3 separate regions of the Homo sapiens genome follow, and all the other regions are linked to region 3. Evidence: promoter capture Hi-C in 16 types of primary human blood cells and fetal thymus (Javierre and others, 2016). All regions are on one chromosome and are shown on one strand. The core of a region is centred on a gene start or on the middle of the fragment in contact, and the rest is flanking DNA. Distances in the headings are between cores, read along the strand shown. Region 1 holds the start of OR10S1 (olfactory receptor family 10 subfamily S member 1). Region 2 holds the start of OR8D4 (olfactory receptor family 8 subfamily D member 4). Region 3 holds the start of OR4D5 (olfactory receptor family 4 subfamily D member 5).

Region 1 (4,071 bases), core at 516-3,015, 38 kb before region 3:
ACTCCCCAAGCCAGAGCTGCTGTAACACTATAGCCCTCCCACCCTCTGCCAGTGCTGGGTGGCCACCCAATGGGACAGGAAGCAGAGGTGGGCCAGGCCAGCCCAGGAGCTGCAGGTCAGAGTGGGGTGGTGGGACTGAAAGGGCTGTAACACAAACAGACTGAAACACAAACCCCCAAACTCACCCCCTCATTGGCTGCATTGTGGGTGACGAGAAGGAAAGAAGAGCTTCTTGGAGCCCAGACCTCAGGACTCCCTGAGCCAGGGCTGTGACAGGCTGTAATACCCTCTTTGGGCTCTGCAGTTCCTGGCATCTCTGAGCTTTTGGGTGCCCCCATATTCCCCTCGTCCAGATGCTGGTGCCCATAATGGAAACCACTTGCAGTATGCCTGGTCCAGCTATAGCCTCACATGAAGCTGGTGCCTCTGCTGGCACCTGGAGCTGCCCATCCCACCACAGCAGCAAGTGTGCCTGGCTGTGTGCAGTGGCCAGACCCCTGTGCTTGCTCACTCACACACCTCTCGCCTCTCCCACCCTTGGCAAGCATGGAATCCAGGCTGGTAGCACGAGCCAAGTGCAGCCTGCCAGGCCAAGTGGGTGAAAAGAACCCAGCAGCCATGAGCAAACTCAAGCAGAGGAACCACCAGCCACAGAGGTTTCTGTCTGGAAAAGTGACATCCTAAGGATCCTGTGACAAGATCAGAGAGAGATTATGGCAAATTGAGGAGATGAGGCAAATAGCATCCCTGGATAACAGGAGTTTCTTAGGGGATTGCAGAAGATAAAGATTTTTTTCATGATAATGGAAATAGTTTACAGATAATTCTGAATGTAGGACAGAGATACACTTTATATCTCAGGCACTAAGGAACAGTAAGAAAAGATATATTCGAATTTTTTTAAGAAAACTGGCACAAAAAAGTTGAATACTGAATCATTTGGTATATCAGGGAGTAAGGAAGAGATGGGACATAAAATACCATTGTGAAAATCTAGGTGTAAAATATGAAGAGGTGGGTTTAGGTAAAATCCACAGGAATTGAAGAGACAACACGGAAAAAAAGCAGTTTAAGGAAATTTTTCACCTAATGCAACATCTGTTAGGCTAACGAGGTGAAAGATGGAAGAATCAAAGAGAACTCTTTAAATCTCAATTACAGTCCAGTGGAAAGGCTCAACAAGAAAGGAAAAGGCAAACAATTCCCCAAATTTTGAAACAGAGCTTTACAGGAAGAACACAAAGTGTATAGAAAAAATTGTCCTGATAATTATTCAGTCTATTCTCCAAGCCTCAATTGTTACACACTTGAGGATTGTGGGTAACTGAAATTCCAAAGAACTCCTCTGGTTGAGTAATGGGTGGGGCTGCTGTGTTTCTGGCTGATGTAATAGCACCAAAACTCCAGGCAAGTCTCACCTGAAAATAGGATGCATCTCCCTGATGACACAGCAATAAGAACCTGCCTTTCTACATCTACAGCATGGCAGGGTACATAGAGTAGGAGGGCAGAGGCATCACAATTCTGGAATATTTGCAAAAAATACTCATTGAGAGTAGGATTTATAATCCATATTTTTATTGTCATTATTTAGGGAGTGCATTTCTGCAAATAATTCTTACAGTCCTTTATATACCTCACCAAAACTGCAGATTTTGTATTGAAAGATTCATTATGAAGAAATAAACAGCAAGGAAGCACTAGACTAGAGCAGAACAAAACTGTAAGATGAACTTGTACATCTTTCTCTTGCTTACTGGGTAAGACCAAGGTGGTGTGGCTTGATGGATAATGACATCTCAGGAAAGGGATACAGCTATTTATTCCATTAATGTCAGTTTTGTTGCAAAGGGGATGACTAGCCGCTCTGTGTGTGAGAAGATGACCATGACAACGGAGAACCCCAACCAGACTGTGGTGAGCCACTTCTTCCTGGAGGGTTTGAGGTACACCGCTAAACATTCTAGCCTCTTCTTCCTCCTCTTCCTCCTCATCTACAGCATCACTGTGGCTGGGAATCTCCTCATCCTCCTAACTGTGGGCTCTGACTCTCACCTCAGCTTACCCATGTACCACTTCCTGGGGCACCTCTCCTTCCTGGATGCCTGTTTGTCTACAGTGACAGTGCCCAAGGTCATGGCAGGCCTGCTGACTCTGGATGGGAAGGTGATCTCCTTTGAGGGCTGTGCCGTACAGCTTTATTGCTTCCACTTTCTGGCCAGCACTGAGTGCTTCCTGTACACAGTCATGGCCTATGACCGCTATCTGGCTATCTGTCAACCCCTGCACTACCCAGTGGCCATGAACAGAAGGATGTGTGCAGAAATGGCTGGAATCACCTGGGCCATAGGTGCCACGCACGCTGCAATCCACACCTCCCTCACCTTCCGCCTGCTCTACTGTGGGCCTTGCCACATTGCCTACTTCTTCTGCGACATACCCCCTGTCCTAAAGCTCGCCTGTACAGACACCACCATTAATGAGCTAGTCATGCTTGCCAGCATTGGCATCGTGGCTGCAGGCTGCCTCATCCTCATCGTTATTTCCTACATCTTCATCGTGGCAGCTGTGTTGCGCATCCGCACAGCCCAGGGCCGGCAGCGGGCCTTCTCCCCCTGCACTGCCCAGCTCACTGGGGTGCTCCTGTACTACGTGCCACCTGTCTGTATCTACCTGCAGCCTCGCTCCAGTGAGGCAGGAGCTGGGGCCCCTGCTGTCTTCTACACAATCGTAACTCCAATGCTCAACCCATTCATTTACACTTTGCGGAACAAGGAGGTGAAGCATGCTCTGCAAAGGCTTTTGTGCAGCAGCTTCCGAGAGTCTACAGCAGGCAGCCCACCCCCATAGTCTGTGCTATCAAAACTCACAATTTGCCTGCCAGGAAAGCAACTATTCACATCTCAAATCATTCAGGTGGAAATCAGAATAACTGAGTTGCAACTCAGTCACACACTTTCCCCCAGCTTTGGCCAAATGGTCTACCTCACTCTCTCCCTTGCAAACACTTCATCTAGAAAATGAGGAGGCTGGATTAGATGATGTCTAGAGTCTCTCCAAAATCTATGTTCTATGGTTCAGAGGTATGTGAAATGCTATTCGTATCCTCATTTGTATTAGTAAATGATTGTTTTACTTTTTATGAAATAACTTTATTAAATACATACAGAATACTGTAAACAAAAATATAAAAGGCAATGAAAAAACCTTTGTATACATATTTCCCAGCTTAGAAACCACATTTTTTAAAATGATAAAATACAAGGAGAAAAGTGATTGTCCAAGGTGACTTAGAAAGTCACATTTTCTTTATTCTCCCACTCATGGTAGTATATACTTTAGGCCACATTGAGAGATAGAAATAACATGGGTTTTGGTGTCAATTGAACCTACCAGTATTCTAATACTGATCCAACCAGGTCTAGTTGTAGAATTTTGTACAGATGTCATAATTGCAGTTTTAGTCTCCACTTTTAAGAGTAAGATTTAAAATAATTGCTTTGTAGGATATTATGAGGTCTAAATAAAATAGTTATATTAAGTGTCATGTAAAATAGGCGCTCATGTTTCTTACCAAGCTGGTTGAAGAAATCAAAGAGAGCTTATGATACAAGCTAAGGTTCAAATTGTTTCTGAAAGATTAGCAAGGTTTTAATATCTTCATTGAGTTTATAGGGCAACTACAAAAGAAAGGGCATTTCTAGACTTCAAAATTATAAAAGATAACTCAAGGTTTTAGTTAAACCAGCTTACCATACAAGAGGAAGGAGTTGTGTTGTATTCACCTAACCTATTCTATAAGATGAAAATGTCCTTGAATGCCAACCTAAAGAATTCAGATTATGCCCTAGGCATCCTACCTGTTTACTTTTCCTCCTCCTTGTCATCTATAGAAATACCTTTATCCTGAGAAGCCACTTCTTTAAATGCTAAACCATGAGATAAATTAGAAAAGAGAGACAAAAAAAGGAGAAATGGTAGAATGGCCAGTTAATAAACTATTATAACATCAGAGACATAAGATAATAAAAGTATTGCTAAACCTAGATGAAGAGACACTTTATAGAATTA
Region 2 (4,121 bases), core at 400-2,899, 37 kb after region 3:
TCACAGATTCCATGGCAGTGTAATGTGCATGTCAAATAGATTATTGCAACAAATTGTATTCTGTTTTTGCATTTGTAGGAAGAAAAATTATACACATTCCATCTTAGTCCACACAAAAGTAAGCAATGATAACCAGCATCTACTTTATTTAACCAACCGATAAACAGTAAACTTGACTAGCCTAGGGATACAAATTTATGAGGTTGTATTTCTGACCAAAATAATCTACTACATTGATTCAGACCTCATTCAGGACTCAGGTGGTTTTTAGCAATTTAAAATCATAAGAAAAGTGTTTTTAAACATTTCAATGCATCTCACAGTATTATTAAAACTATGACTATTGAAAGTATTTTGCAAAGGTAAATGCTAGATCAGCATTGCCCAATAGACATATAATGCAGACACACGGGCAATTTAAAACATCCTAGAAGTTCATTTTGTAAAAAGTCAGAATAAAAAGATAAAATACATTTTACTAGTATGTTTTGTTTAACTCAGTTCAGTCCTTGATATCCATAGGAGACTGGTTCCTGGACCCCTTCAGATACCAAAATCCCTGAATGCTCAAGTCCCTGATTTAAAATGGTGTCGTATTTTTATGTAACCTAACTAAGCACATCCTTTTGTATACTTTAAATCATCTCTAGATTACTTATAATACCTAATATAATGTAAATGCTAAGTAAATATTTCTTTTAGTATATTGTTCAGGGAATAACAAGAAAAATGTCTGTACATATTCAGTACAGATATAACCACCCATTAAAAAAAAATCTTCCATCTGCCATTGGTTGAATCCACAGATGTGGAACCCACAGACACACAGGCCAACTGTACATGCAAAATGATGTACATGTACATCATTTCAACATATAATTCATATTTTAAAAATAATGAGATATTTTACATTATTTTATTATACAAATCTTTGAAATCCATAGTGTATTTTATACCCGGCCAGATTTCAAATGCTCAGTAGCCACCTATGGCTAGTGGCTATATTACTGGACAACAGAAGTCTAGAATGTGATCTTTTTCCCTAAATCTTTCAAATCTGAATTGTCCCCTTTTAAAGAAAGAAACCATTAGTACAGAGGTAACAGAAAGACCATGAACCCTGAGTTATAAGATGCAGTATCATTTTCATTTCTAAGATTTACAGTGCAACCTTTGACTCATAAAGTCTCTCTGAACTTCATATTTTAATCTGTAAAAAATAATAAATACTTCAAAAGATTGTTATGCAAATCAAATGAGACAATAACTGTGAATGTATTTTACATATTATAAGGTTCACATAAATATATTTGTAAATATATTTTTAAAGCAGGTGATTTCACAGATTAATTCATATATTAGACACAAGATACTTAGGTAAGGTGACTGGACAATGCATAAATGAGTCTGAGATGGATGCCTATGGCCTCTTCCCTAAACTTCTGTGACTCAGTGGCCTCAAACATGCAGCTCGAGAACCCATGGGGACAATCGGGAATTGATTTCAGAACACATTTTAATATACTTATAATATGAACATCATAATTCTGAAGCTCACCTTTTTCCTCCTGAAGACTGTAGGTGAGTATCTCTTCTTTCTCCTAACCTCATCACTTCAGGAGTAGAGATGGATTGATTTTACCTTCTTCTTTAAGTGTCTGAGTGACAACAGCTAACAAGAAGCTATGACTTTTATTCTCAGTTCAGGTATTTTGTGTCAAGAAATATAAAGACCAGTAGTCCCAAGGGTTTCTTGTCTCCTGAGGTACAGCAGCCTATGTATTTGTAAGAACTATCCATGAACTGGCCTATCATTTTGGGAATCTAACATGGATTAGTCACACTAATGCCCCTTGCCATTCAGTCGGGGAAGATACATGGTCTAACACATGGCTTGCATTTTAAAATGTTGAACAAATGAGGCATCATAGACAGTGCTTGGTATAATAAGCAGTAGGTAGACTTTGAGGTCAGAGATGGAACAGGTCATTACTGTCTAGAGCGATAAGGACGATCTTCATGGAAAGGTAGATTGTAAAATATGCCTTCAAAGGTGGGGAGGATCCATTTAAGCTGAGAGGATATGAAAGAATATTCAAGACGTAGATAAAGGCATAAGCAAAGGAACTGAGAAGTAGAAAACCTAAGGAATATGTGAAGAACACTGGGAATAGCTGAAGTGTTTCTTGGATGAAAGCAGTAGATTCAGTGTTTCTAGTGTCTGCTAATGATGGAAGAAGAGTCAGAGGAATGAGTCTGAGTCCAGCCCTCCAGTCTGTTCTAATGGCTTTCCAGGACATCTGGAAGAATGTGCCTGGTGATCCTTGGGTGAGCCTTTTGTGGCTCTGTTAAAATAACACATGCACTTAAAGCCTCCACATTTTCAGGGGCAAACAGCTATATTCAGATCTGCCTTTGGGGAAAACTGTGACACCACTTCAGATTATCTCATAATCAATAGTGTCTACCATGTCAAAGACACTAAATTTCTGGAGATGGAGCCAGGATAAATAAAGCATGGTCCTTCCCCCATTCATATTGGATGGTTATTAAAACATGTTTTAATGTCAATTTATTTCCTTGGGAAAAGTGCTTTGGTACCATTCCTATTCCCTTAACTATTCTCCCAGTGTACTGACCTCTGCTTTAACATTGTCCCCCCATACATGTATTTGTGCCTGTCTTCCCTGCTCTTTGGGAATTGCCCCCCCGCCGTTGAGACAAGGGACAATTTCTCATTCATTAGGGCCTATCGCAATGACCGGCTTAGAGTAGAATTTACTTTTTTCAGCATCATCCTCATTCCTACCCAGCATCTAGTTCAATCAGAACACTTTGTTCTCTCCTGTCTAGAAGATCGTGATCTGAAATGCTGATTAAAATAGGCCAACTTACAGGAGAGGATTTTCACTTACTAGATAAATAACAAAATGAGATCAATTCTTAACCAGGGGAAATCAGTCATGAATGAGGAAGCTTATGGTATTAGAAGAGCAGATATGTAACACACAATATTCTTGCTTATTCTTAAAATCAAATATTATAAATAACCATCAATCCTACTTATACTTGTCCAAGCAAGCTTATTGCATAGAGGCCTACTGGAGTCAAATGCTTAAAACACAAAACTTCAGCTATAGTCTAGATACCCATTACCAGCCTGTGAATTATACATATTATGAATAATGTTTAGTGAAGTAAATCCCTGTTATGATCATGTGTGTAAGCGAGAGTGTGTGTGTGTATGTATTGCTGCCTCACTATGCAAATAGTTTATTTTGAAACTAAAAAATATTAGTGATTTGCTACACAAATATAATATGGAGCATATCTGATTGCAAAAAAACAAAAAAAAAGCAAATGAAGAAATATAATCCAAAGGCAAAGAGAAATGTTCAGATTATATGTTAGTCTTCTTTGTTAATGTGGGTAAGTCAAAGTTAACTTAGCTATAGCAATCTCTTTATAGTTATGTTAGAGATTCCTTTCAATGTGTACAGGAAGTTTTTGGTCAGAAATGAGAAAAGTATAAAGTCAGGTGGGCTAGTATAAAGCTGGGAATCTAAAGAGGTTGTTTTGTTGTTCTTCTTGTTGTTATTGCTATCTGGGCTTTTGTTTATTTTTAGTTTGTAACCCTTCAGCTAGGGCCTTCTGAGTACTCAGTAGGAGTGTCTAGGTTTGGGAAGAACCACAGGACCATTAGCCGCCTCCTACCACTCTCACTATCACCATGATAAGTCCTAGAAAACAACCTCCTGCCCACTGGGAAGAAACTCTTCTCTACCCTACCCAGCAGTGTGCAGCTGCCTCCACCAGGCAACCTTGGCCTTTGCTGCTGCTCCTCCAGGCACTGCTGTCTTAGTCCAAACGGAGCCAAGAGTAGGTGGAGCAAAGACACCTTGCTTACATTTAGTATTCTGCCCTGTACGTTGCTAGAGCTTTTATCCAAGAAATGCTAATGGTGCAGCAATATTTTCCAGAGTTGTATACTAAAATTAAATTTGTTTCTACTTCCCTCAAGTACCATGAAAATGCAAAGAAACATGGCCCAGTCAGCTCTCAGTGAAAGCCTCCATACTGTTCTCACCTTCCTAAGGGTGAATATGGCTTCTTTTACTAGG
Region 3 (4,179 bases), core at 866-3,365:
GATTGAGCAACAGTTTGCCAGGCAAGGATGAAGAGAAGAGCATCCCAGAGATAGCAAAGAGTATTTGCAAACTCAAGAAGTAAAGAGAAACTGACAGAAGTAAATGCAAACAGAGGGTTAGAAAAGAGTGGAGTTAGAGAAGTGAGATTGGAGAGATGGGTGGAGGCCAGGTCAGACAACATCTTATCTATAATAGTCATGTGGATTTTTTTTTTAAAGGCAATGGAAAGCCTCTGAGTGATTGTAAGGGAGAGAATGATCAAGTCATATTTTAAAAGATGGATCAAATGCCAAGTCTATCTATGATGTCAGTATAACTCACGATGATATAAACTCTATCTGTGATGACATAAACCCACAGATCCTTAGAATCTATAAGACGTTTTAGGTACTGTTGAGCACTTGGGCTCTGATGTTGTATAGACTTGGGTTGAATTCCAGAAAACAAGCTCTGTAGCCTTAAGTAAGTTATTTAATGTCTCTAATTTGTAATGGACTCATGTTTAAAGTAAAGATGATACCTACCTCCTAAGAATTTTGAGAAAATTAAAATAATAAATGTAAATCACCTGGTACAGTGTCTGGAACATAGTAAGTTCTAACTAAATGTTATTAATATGATGATGATGATGACACTGATGGCAACAACAGTGACCCTAGGAAACTATGAGGAAGAAAGTGATTTGCCCAAGGTAATTTCCTTTTTCCTCATTGACGAACAGTCAATCAATCAATCAGTCTCCACTGGGACTCAGGGTCCAATATTTCAAGAGAACCCTTGTCTCAAAGAAATTTAAAAATATTTTAAGCTCTTCCAATGTACTTTGTGTCCAAAAAGTGATATCAGGAAAGAGACACCAGATTTACTAGTTGAAACTTTCTCAGCAAGGCCAACATCATTCTTACGTGGGAAAGTGGCCCCTGAGCCAAACAGTACTTCTACATAGAACTTGATACTTTTTATCTGGGAGGCATTTAGAAGCAGTTCTAAGACACTCATCCCATCTTCTATTGTGGCTAATAGTTCAGGTCACCAGAACCTGATTGAGGTTAAGAACAATGGAGAAGAAGTAGGCATAGATTTTATCTACCTCGAGGGTCCTATCCAGCAGGCTAATACCCTGTAGCATCTTTCAGATTCTCAGGTCACTGCCTCTGCTAATGTAAGGGTCTGTGCTCCAGGGGACCAATAGGGTCCTTTTTCCTCCTCCACAGCTTCTTCATGGCCATGATCACTTCCTTGTTTCTCAGGGTATAGATGGCAGGATTCAGCATGGGGGTGACAATTGTGTATAGCACAGAGACGGCCTTGTCCATGGGGAATGTCCGAAAAGGCCTTGTATAGACGTAGATGCAAGGCACAAAGATTAAGGTCACCACAGCAATGTGAGAGGCACAGGTAGACAGGGCCTTGCTGCGGCCCTCCCGTGAGTGGCTTCGGAGCATGACTAGCAGTGCTGTGTACGATCCCAGAAGCACCAGAAAACACATCAGGGTCACCAGGCCATTGTTAGACACCATTAAAAGCTCTAAGACAAAGGTATCTGTGCAGGCCAATTTGATCAGCTGAGGCACATCACAATAAAAGTTGTCCAGCTTGTCAGGCCCACAGAATGGCAGCTGGATAGTCAATGCAATCTGTACTATGGAGTGGATGAAGCCCCCCACCCAGGAGGCTGCCATAAGGAGTGCACAGACAGTCTGATTCATAATGAGCGTGTAGTGCAGGGGCTGGGAAATGGCAATGTAGCGGTCATACGCCATGACAGTCAGCAGGAAGATCTTGATGCCTCCAATGAAGTGGAAGAAGAAGAGTTGAGTCAGGCATCCACCAAAGGAAATGGTAGGGTTGCCTGAGAGCAAGTCAACCAGCATCCTAGGTGCTGTGATGGAAGAGTAGCAAAAGTCCAGGAAAGAAAGATTGCCCAAGAGAAAATACATGGTTGTGTGCAGGTGTGGGTCGGAGGTCACTATGACCACAATAAGAAGGTTTCCCACTACAGTCATAAAATACACAGCAGAGAAAACAGTGAAGAAAACAAACCGAAGCTCCCAAACCTGAGAGAGCCCCAGTAGAACAAATCCTGCCACCTGGGAATGATTTGCTGGATTCATCTGGTTGGTATGACCTTGTCAATGAACCTGCTAAGAAAAAAGGACATATTATTCAGGGGATCTGCAAAGTTCTCTAAAATAATTCCCTCTGCTTCCTCTGGGAAATTCTTCACTCTTTCATTTTCCATAAGGAGAATGTTGTAAGTGGTTCTGCAGGACACCAAGCATTTGAACATCATATATTGGTGATATCAAACTCCAAAGGCATAAAACTCAGGATAGCACTCATACTATTTCTGGTTTATGAGAATCAGAAGTAATAAGCCCTCAAAAATTGAAAATGGCATGTAGAGAAGAGAGTGTTAAATGGAAAATGAATTTTGATTCTTCCAGTAACTAGTTGTGTAAACAGAAACAATTATCTGCAGTTCTTTAAGCCTCGCTTCCCTTGTCTATGCTATAAAATTAACCAAAATGTCCTCAAAGTCTCCTTTACTTTAATATTTGATACCATATATGGCCTTAATTTAGAAAACCTGATGCATCCCTGCATGCCAGACATTTAGACGAAGCTTCCATGGATTGACAGAGTTCTAATATTTGTCCCAAAACAACAGGAAGTGCAAGTTGTCCATTACAGCCCTGAATAAATATTCAGTTGCCTTCTGATATAGCTCTATCTTGGATATACATTTTCAGGCCTAGCAGGATACTGAAGCCATGGGTAAGGGAGCAGAATAGAAATCACCGGGGCCGGGCGCGGTGGCTCACGCCTATAATCCCAGCAGTTTGGGAGGCCGAGGTGGACGCATCACCTGAAGTCAGGAGTCCGAGACCAGCCTGGCCAACATGGAGAAACCCTGTCTCTAATAAAACTACAAAAATTACCTGGCATGATGGCGGGCACCGGTAATCCCAGCTACTCAAAAACTCAGAAATTGAAAAATGGGATGAGCAGCAGGCCGAGGCAGGAGAATGGCGTGAACCTTGGGGGTGGATACCGCCGTGAGCTGAGATCACGCCACTGCACTCCAGCCTGGGAGATGGAGTGAGACTCTGTCAAAAAAAAAAAAAAAAAAAGAAAAGAAAAGAAAAAGAAAAGAAAAGAAATCACTGCCCCCTGCACTTTAAAAGGGTAGTGAAGAACTACTAGTCTCTCTAAAATTAGATAAGAAAACGTGATAGAAAAAGCTTCCTGTCTGGTGGCTCTGGGAAACCCAGAGAAACTATAGTCCCGGAGGAAACATAGGAGAAGGCAACAAGAATATTAAATCACTTCCGAATCGTTTGAATGTCAATATTAATTTCAGAGACATTACCCAAAGAATAATTTTTATTCATAGGGGAAGCAGCAAGAGGAAGCTATAAATATTAATTAAAATTTTAAAACCACCATCTAAAAACGCAGAGCTACCTTGGAAACCTTCAAAATAAAAGGGGTGTTTTCATACACTTAAGTACTTTAAAACATACTCAGAAAGATGACTAAACAAACTCTAGAATAAAAGCCTTCATGTTGCTGAATAGAACCGTGAAGTGTCATTTCAATTTAACTTAATATTAAGTATGGATTTCAATTATATTTTCTTTCCTTTGTCCATTCATTCAGTAAGCATTTATTCAGCACCTTCTACTTACTAGGCACTGTGCTAAATACTAAGGGGTTAAAGAGTAAGCTACAATGATTTAATACATCTCTAAGTGTGTAACACTCTGCATAGGAGTGTTCCAACACCTGCCCATCTATTAGGTTTCATCAAAACATATTGATATGGTTTGGCTCTGTGTCCCCACCCAAATCTCTTCTCGTATTGTAATCTCCACATGTAAAATGAGGGACCTGGTGGGAGGTGATTGGATCATGGGGGTGGTTTCCCCCATGCTGTTCTCATGATAGTGAAGGAGTTCTCACAAGATCTGATGGTTTAAAAGTGGCAGTCCCCCTGTTCTCTCTTACCTGCTACCATGTAAGATATGCCTTGCTTCCCCTTTGCCTTCCACCATGATTGTAAGTTTCCTGAGACCTCTCCAGCCTTGTGGAACTGTGAGTCAATTAAAACTCCTTTTTTTTAAATAAATTACCCAGTCTCAGGTAGTATCTTTAGAACAGTGTGAGAATGGACT

Evidence for each region. The method cuts DNA at HindIII sites, captures the fragments that hold promoters and counts their contacts. A CHiCAGO score of 5 or more calls a contact.
Region 1: the fragment with the promoter of OR10S1 here is called in contact with the fragment with the promoter of OR4D5 in region 3 in 1 of 17 cell types (neutrophils); the score reaches 5.6 in neutrophils.
Region 2: a contact is called between the fragment with the promoter of OR8D4 here and the fragment with the promoter of OR4D5 in region 3, in 1 of 17 cell types (neutrophils). The highest score is 7.5, in neutrophils.

Annotation. Positions count from the first base shown.
Region 1 is chr11:123,975,475-123,979,545 of GRCh38, reverse strand. OR10S1 (olfactory receptor family 10 subfamily S member 1) reads left to right here and starts at 1,765. Exons shown (of 1, transcript NM_001004474.2): 1 at 1,765-2,885. The coding sequence starts at 1,882. The coding sequence ends at 2,850. The HindIII fragment of the contact is 7,911 bases long and covers 1-4,071 here.
Region 2 is chr11:123,899,695-123,903,815 of GRCh38, reverse strand. OR8D4 (olfactory receptor family 8 subfamily D member 4) reads right to left here and starts at 1,649. Exons shown (of 2, transcript NM_001005197.2): 1 at 1,559-1,649. The HindIII fragment of the contact is 7,569 bases long and covers 1-2,978 here.
Region 3 is chr11:123,937,553-123,941,731 of GRCh38, reverse strand. It overlaps OR4D5 (olfactory receptor family 4 subfamily D member 5), which reads right to left and starts at 2,115. Exons shown (of 1, transcript NM_001001965.1): 1 at 1,159-2,115. The coding sequence starts at 2,115. The coding sequence ends at 1,159. The HindIII fragment of the contact is 4,702 bases long and covers 1-2,629 here.